2 separate regions of the Homo sapiens genome follow, and region 1 is linked to region 2. Evidence: promoter capture Hi-C in 16 types of primary human blood cells and fetal thymus (Javierre and others, 2016). All regions are on one chromosome and are shown on one strand. Each heading gives the region's core, a stretch centred on a gene start or on the middle of the fragment in contact. The rest is flanking DNA. Distances are from core to core; before and after follow the strand shown.

Evidence for each region. The method cuts DNA at HindIII sites, captures the fragments that hold promoters and counts their contacts. A CHiCAGO score of 5 or more calls a contact.
Region 1: a contact is called between a fragment that was not itself captured here and the fragment with the promoter of GPR135 in region 2, in 1 of 17 cell types (M0 macrophages). The highest score is 5.4, in M0 macrophages.

The regions. Positions count from the first base shown.
Region 1 is chr14:58,489,096-58,491,795 of GRCh38, reverse strand. KIAA0586 reads right to left here. Exons shown (of 31, transcript NM_001329943.3): 25 at 1,556-1,632. Among named protein-coding and RNA genes, the nearest start is that of KIAA0586, 63 kb to the right of the region's middle. The HindIII fragment of the contact is 4,297 bases long and covers 1-2,700 here.
Region 2 is chr14:59,463,928-59,469,119 of GRCh38, reverse strand. It overlaps GPR135 (G protein-coupled receptor 135), which reads left to right and starts at 3,740. Exons shown (of 1, transcript NM_022571.6): 1 at 3,740-5,192. The coding sequence starts at 3,894. It also overlaps a transcript of L3HYPDH not described here. RefSeq lists a silencer at 3,670-4,209. The HindIII fragment of the contact is 8,985 bases long and covers 2,030-5,192 here.

The DNA.
Region 1 (2,700 bases), core at 201-2,700, 980 kb after region 2:
TGCAGTAAAGTAATGCCACAGTGTGGCAATGGGGGCAAAGCACTGTAATGCTGCAACTTGGACCACAAGCAAAAATGAAAAACTGCAGAAGTATGGTATGGCAGCTATAGACCTCAATGTCCCTTTGCCTTTGGGCTGACATCTGGCTTACTTGGCGAGGGCATTGGTATTGAAGACCCTCACTGGAGCACCCTGTATAGGCTTCCTCATGCCTCAAAATAGGCCCATCCCAACAATGAGGAACAGTGTGGGCCTCAGAGTCCAACAAAGTAGATTATCTTGTAAATACAGATATTAACATGACTTTAAATTCATTGAAAGTATTTGTATTTATTTTTCATGAAATAAAGTTTATTAACTCCAGATTATAAGTCCCTATCCCCTAGCTATGTATAGATAAAATGCCCACTGGTACATGATTTCAAGTTATTTGGGGTTTTTCCAGATTGTACTATTGTATTTGACTTTATTATGAATTTGTAGCATATGTGATTTAGGCATAGTAAAAATATCAACATTAGAATTTAGTTTCAAATGTAGAAAAAGAGAAACAAGTTATAATTTAGTCTTGGTTTGGTTTAGCTATTTACTTTAAATAAATTTAAACATGCTTTGCCACTTGAAAAAGTTCAAAGAGAGGAGAAAAATGCTATAATTGTACACTAATAGGCCGAATGTTAGTAATGCTTCTCTGAAAATAAAGATATCTCATTTATGCCTTCTTCCCATATTATTTCATAAAAGTGATTGCTATGCTCTCTTCACAATTAGCTCAACCAATTACTTGCAATAAATAATTACTGTTTAAAAATTGTTTCATTAAAATCTTATCAAAAAACTTCTTAATGAAGTATTTTCATAGGCCTATGTGAAATAACTTAAAAAAACAGCAACAATGCTTTAAAAAGATGTGAATAAACATAGATGATAGTTGAGTACAATTACCTTTCCTTGCTTAGGTTGTTTAAAAATATATAAAAAGTAAAGATTTCTATTCCTTAACGGTTTTTTCAAAAGAAAATTCTTACTATCACTTCTATATATTTATATATAATGTGATATTTTTAAATACCAACTTTTGCTTCTACAGAGCTAGATAAAAACTAGAAAGGGTTAACATCCCTGGACCTCATTTTTCTTTTTAAGCCATTAAGTTTAAATATTTATTAGCACAAAGAATTATAATCATGGTTAGGGAAAAATAACAAATGTATTACAAGAGAGTTGGTTTAAACAGGTAAGATCCTGCTTAAATATTGTAAAGACAACATACAGAGGTAACAATTTGCAATCAGCTAGATTTCATTACCTAATTACATTAAATGTATATTTTTTTACTACTAGAGCCACGAGGGTTAATAATAACTTTTTTTCATTCTCATAATTATAAGATTACATAATGAAATGTGCAAGAAACTCTAAATTATTTCATGGTTATTTTACTAAATTTTGTGTCTATAACTCAAAAAATTGAGAAAAAACCTGATCAGTGGCAACCAATTCATACAGATATTCTTCCTGTCAGAATTCAGTGTTGGAGTCAATCGTTACTTACCATTTCAACGGCATCATGCAGAGTGCTGGATAAGCTATCATTAAGGTTTGTCAGGTACAGTCCTATATCTTCTAAAACTAGAAATTAAAATATAAAAGTTTAGAAAAAAAAAAGAAACACAAACTTAGTAAATAATCTGACCATAAAGCCATAGCATATTAGATTCAAAATTATACTGCAATGGAAATACTGGCAAAGTTTATAAACAAGTAATTCACAAACTACTCAATCTTACCAGTTTTTTTGAAGTACAATTTATAACAAAGATGAGAATTTTGTTTAACCTACCAGTTTGTTAGAAATTAAAAACTATAAATATCAATTGTAGTTATGAAATTGAGAAACGGGTATTCTCATATACTGTTGATATAATTAAAACTGATTAAGAGCTAAAAATCCTTTCTAGAACTTAGAGCAAAGAAAAAAAAAATCCTTTCTAGAAAGCATGTTGGTGATGCATCTTTAAAGTAGACTCAGCAATTTCGCTTTTAGGCATGTATTCTAAGGAAGAGACCAGATAAGTGCACAAAGACATATATACATGAAAGGATGGTAATTAGAGAGTTGTGTATAGACTGAAAGCATTGAAAACAATCTAAATGCCCTCTATTAAGGGATTAAACAGACTACACAGCCAGAAAAGAAAAATAAGAAAAATATGGAGTTATATTAAAAGATATCCACAATATATTATTTGGTAAAAAAAAAAATTCAGGTTTCAGGCTGGGTGAGGTGGTTCAGGCCTATAATCCCAGCCCTTTGGGAGGCCAAGACGGGTGGATCACTTGAGCTCAGAAGTCTGAGACCAACCTGGGCAAAATGGTGAAACTTCATCTCTACAAAAAATATAAAAGTTAGCCGGGCGTGGTGGCACATGCCTGTAGTCCCAGTTACTCAGAAGGCTGAGGTGGGAGTATCACTTGAGCCCAGGAAGTTGAGGCTGCAGTGAACCATGATCATGCCACCTCACTCTAGCTTGCATGACAGTGAGAACCTGTCTCAAAAAAAAAAAAAAAATTCAGGTTTCAAAACAATATGCATAGTAAGATCCTATTTTTAAAGGTAAACATACATCCACATACGTATGTATTTATGTGTCTATATATGCATAGACAAAAAAGACTGGAAAGGCCTACCCCAAACCA
Region 2 (5,192 bases), core at 2,491-4,990:
TGATCTGTTCCAATGGTGGCCTAAAGAGATCACTCCCATCAGTTTCTGCTCTCCCTACCCACAGGACTGCTCTGACTTCTCTTCTTCTTGGAGCTGCTGTTAGACTGTCCTTTTGTAAATGGAACTTCCCCTGTCCTTCCAGTAAATTCCTATATTGCTTATGTGAACCAGTGTCCTCATGTGTTACTTACGCCCAGAGAATCCTAATCCATATACTACCTACCCTAATCTATACATGACCTCTCCTTCTTCACTGCAAAGGTCCACTTCAGACTCTCACTTTTCACCTGGACTGTTAGAATGCCTCTCCTTAAGTGGTCTCCTAAATTCCAGATTCTCCTCTTACAGTTACTCAAAAAATATTTTTTTGTATGTTGGCATTTGTATAGCAGTTTGTTAGAGTGCTAAGTGCTGGGGATCTCATAAAATAAACAGGCAAGGTTTAGGTCCTCATATAGTATAGAGTGGGAGGCAGGTAATGCTTAGATAATCACGCAAAAAATTATAGACCATGGTTATGTGCTACAATGGAAAATACAGAGTGCTGTGAAACTAACAGGGGAACATGGCCCAATACGTGGGGAAAGGACGGTATCAGTCAAGGGAGGCTTCCCCCATGGACTAACCTTAACGCGAAGATGGGGATGCTAGGGAAGGGAAGAAGAAGATGGAGCTTTCCAGGCAGAGGGGATAGCAAGTGCAAACACCCTAAGATGGAAGGTTTAAGGAAGTCATAAAAGCCAAGTGTGGCAGGAACACAGAAAAAAGAAGGAAAGTGGTACCGAATGAGACTAGAGAGGAAGCAGGGTCAAATCATGCAGTGCCTTGTAGGAAATATTAAGGATTGGGGTCCTTATTCTAAAATAAATGGGGAAAGCCAATAGGATTTTTTTTAAAAGAGACATGGTCTCACTATGTTGCCCAGGCTGGCCTGTAACTACTGGGCTCATACGATCCTCCCTCCTCAGCTTCCTAAGTACCTGGGACTACAGGCACATGCCACTACACTGGCCTAATTAGAAGAGTTTAAATAAGTAAGTGGCATGAAGAATTTTTTTAAGAGCATTATGCCTAGCTGCCTACAATGTAGGAACTGGATGTGGGAAGACCGGTTAGGACAACAGTGACAACAGTAGTCCAAAGAGAGGATGAGAGCCAAGATTCAGGATGGAGGAGATGAATGGATGCAAAGATAGTCCGCAACTAAAATCCATAGGTCTTGGTTGATGAATTGGATGTGGACTGGTGGTAAGGAGGAGGGATTCATCAAGGAAAACTCTTAAGTTTTTGGCTTAAAAGCTAGAAGGATGGTTCTACCATATTCTGAGATACAGAGTATTGAAGACCAAGTTTTACCGGGGAAGTAGGAAGAAGATCATGCACCCATTTGATGTGCCACTGGCACATCAAGGAGAGAGATGCCAAGTAGCAGGACATGTAGGTTGGGGCCACAGACATAATTTGAGTAATGAATATATAGATTATCTTTGAAGTCCTGGATGTGAGTGAGATGGGGCCGAGGGGGGAGTCCAGAGGAGCTGAGAACAGGGCTTTGATGAACTCCAGCATGTAAAGGCAGGTGGAAGAGGATGAACTGGCAGAGGAGAGGACACTGAGAAAGATGAGGAAGGAAGGAAGCAGAAGAGTGCAGTCCTTCTGGTCCTTCTGAACCATGCACTTGCTCACGGCCCTCCCTTATGCTATTAGCCCCTCCTCCCCTGATGAAGTTCAGTCTCCAGAGCATGGCCTACAAGGCCCATCATAAGGTAGCCCCAATAAACTTTGATCATTTATTTCCTTCTTCACTCCCCATCTCCAATATCCTAGAATTCAGACACTGCTCACTTCAACACTAACCTCCAGACTTTGCACATTCATCAAATGTTCTTTCCCTTTCTTCTTTTTTTAAAAAGTCTAATGTCACCTCTTGTACAAAGTCTTTGTCAGGAAGACAAATAATTTCACTCACATATTTTTAAGACAATATTTAGCACACTGTAATATACTGTGTTGGCCGGTGGCTTAAGCTTATTTGGGCTGGGTTTCCTATCTTATATGTTGTTTCCTAAAACTAAGCACAATCTGAGAAGATTGTGTTTGCCAAATAAATTAATGTATGATAATTATATTTTTGCTTTGATTGACAAAATTAAGACAAAATCAGTCTAGATTAAGCTGGCATTGACTGCTCCCAAGAGGATATTTGGCAATATCTGAAGACAGTTTTAGTTGTCACAGCTGGGAGAGGTGCTACTGGCATCTCGTAGGTAGGAACTAGGGATGCTGCTGAACATCATACAATGTATAGATGGCCCCTGCAATAAAGAATTATCTGGCCCAAAAGTCCATGACGCTTAGGCTGACAAACCCAGTTTTGGTTTGCCACCTTAAACGTTCTTCTATTTATACTGTAAATTTCCTGTAGGATATTTTTTCTGAATGAAATAAGCACTCCAATACTAATACCATTGATTCTAAGATCTACAAATATACTAGTCATTCTTTAGAGCAGTGTTTCTCAAATTTGTGCATCAGAATCACTGGGAGGGCTTGTTAAAACATAGGTGCCTGGGCCCCACCACAGGAGTTTCAGTAGATCAGGGGTATCCTATGCACTGTAGGCCTGATAATTTGTATTTCTCAAGGTTTCCAGGGGATGTTGATGCTGCTGGTCCAATGTCCATACTCTGTGAACCACTGCTTTAGCGAAGAGCCCAGGGTTAGTTAACCTGAGGGTTTATCACACTTTTCCCCATTAGAGGCCATGCCCAGAAACTTGAGATGCAACTTCCCTGGGTAGCCCTGCCTTTCTTTTCCCCGTATCTCCCAGCCAGGTACCTGGAGCTGCATCTGTGGTGATTGCCAGGCTGGCAGCACCTTAGACTCAAAACATACCCCATTCCTGAGAACAGATGAAGGCTGCTAGCAGGGCAAGGCACCAATCCCTCTCCCCCCATTTATCAGCCAGTAGGGGCCTGAGGTCCAGGCCCTTGGAAATGAAGTAACATCTAAAGGAACTATCCTAGCTCCTCAGAGCACCTGTATCAGAATCACCTACGGGGTTTAGAGTCATGGGCCCATCCTTAGTAATTCTGTCAGCCTGGGAATCTGCATTTTATGAAACTCTTGACATCAGTGCTTCTGTAAGTGTGGTCCTGGGACCAGCATCATCATCACCACCCGCGAACCCGTTAGAGATACAAATTCTTGGGTACTTCCCCAGACATATTCGAAACGCTGGGGTTCAGACCTCGTCACTTGTATTTTAACACGCCCTCTATGTGAATTCTGTTAGCTCAAGTTTGAGAATTACTGGTTTAAATTAGTCTGCTTCTCAAGTTTAAGATGTCTGGATGTAGACTTCTGGATTTTTCTTTCACTTCACTTTCTAGATTCCTTTCCTACCTGTATATACCAAAAGCACCCACAGGAAGCAGAGTGCCCCCCCCACCACTCCCCAAAAGGCCTGCCTGTAGAACATTTGTACCCTACAAAAGAGAGCAAGAGTGAACTTTCGTTGAATCTGGTCATTTGTTTGCATGCCAGTCGGCACTTTATCTGGCCGGACATTGGTCCCTCAGGAGGTCGACCTGGCACTCTCGGAAACCCGAACACCCGGGCCGGTAACCTCCGGAGTGGCGGTGTCGCGGGTCGGCTTTGCAGCGGGTACTGGGCTGCCGTCCCGCCCCGCGCTCCTGCGTAAACACGCGGTTCCCTCGGCAACGCTGGAACCCACGTCAAAGGCTCCGCCAGGTCCCCAGCGACCGCCACCCCTCCGGCCGAGCCCAGCTCCCCGCGGCGGCCGCTAGCCCCCGGCCCCGAGCCACCACTCCGACCTAGCGGCCGCCGCCCCCGGTGCGGGATGAGGAGATCCGCGGCCGCCACTGGGCCCCATGGAGGAGCCGCAGCCGCCCCGCCCACCAGCGAGCATGGCCTTACTGGGCAGCCAGCACTCCGGCGCCCCCTCCGCGGCCGGCCCACCTGGCGGGACTTCCTCCGCGGCCACGGCGGCCGTGCTCTCCTTCAGCACCGTGGCGACCGCGGCGCTGGGGAACCTGAGCGACGCAAGCGGAGGCGGCACAGCTGCCGCTCCCGGTGGCGGCGGCCTTGGCGGGTCCGGGGCAGCGCGGGAGGCGGGGGCGGCGGTGAGGCGGCCGCTAGGCCCGGAGGCGGCGCCGCTGCTGTCGCACGGAGCTGCAGTGGCGGCCCAGGCGCTCGTCCTCCTGCTCATCTTCCTGCTGTCTAGCCTTGGCAACTGCGCGGTGATGGGGGTGATTGTGAAGCACCGGCAGCTCCGCACCGTCACCAACGCCTTCATCCTGTCGCTGTCCCTATCGGATCTGCTCACGGCGCTGCTCTGCCTGCCCGCCGCCTTCCTGGACCTCTTCACTCCGCCCGGGGGTTCGGCGCCTGCCGCCGCCGCGGGGCCCTGGCGCGGCTTCTGCGCCGCCAGCCGCTTCTTCAGCTCGTGCTTCGGCATCGTGTCCACGCTCAGCGTGGCGCTCATCTCGTTGGACCGTTACTGCGCTATCGTGCGGCCGCCGCGGGAGAAGATCGGCCGCCGCCGCGCGCTGCAGCTGCTGGCGGGCGCCTGGCTGACGGCCCTGGGCTTCTCCTTGCCCTGGGAGCTGCTCGGGGCGCCCCGGGAACTCGCGGCGGCGCAGAGCTTCCACGGCTGCCTCTACCGGACCTCCCCGGACCCCGCGCAGCTGGGCGCGGCCTTCAGCGTGGGGCTGGTGGTGGCCTGCTACCTGCTGCCCTTCCTGCTCATGTGCTTCTGCCACTACCACATCTGCAAGACGGTGCGCCTGTCGGACGTGCGCGTGCGGCCGGTGAACACCTACGCGCGCGTGCTGCGCTTCTTCAGCGAGGTGCGCACGGCCACCACCGTCCTCATCATGATCGTCTTCGTCATCTGCTGCTGGGGGCCCTACTGCTTCCTGGTGCTGCTGGCCGCCGCCCGGCAGGCCCAGACCATGCAGGCCCCCTCGCTCCTCAGCGTGGTGGCCGTCTGGCTGACCTGGGCCAATGGGGCCATCAACCCTGTCATCTACGCCATCCGCAATCCCAACATTTCGATGCTCCTAGGGCGCAACCGCGAGGAGGGCTACCGGACTAGGAATGTGGACGCTTTCCTGCCCAGCCAGGGCCCGGGTCTGCAAGCCAGAAGCCGCAGTCGCCTTCGAAACCGC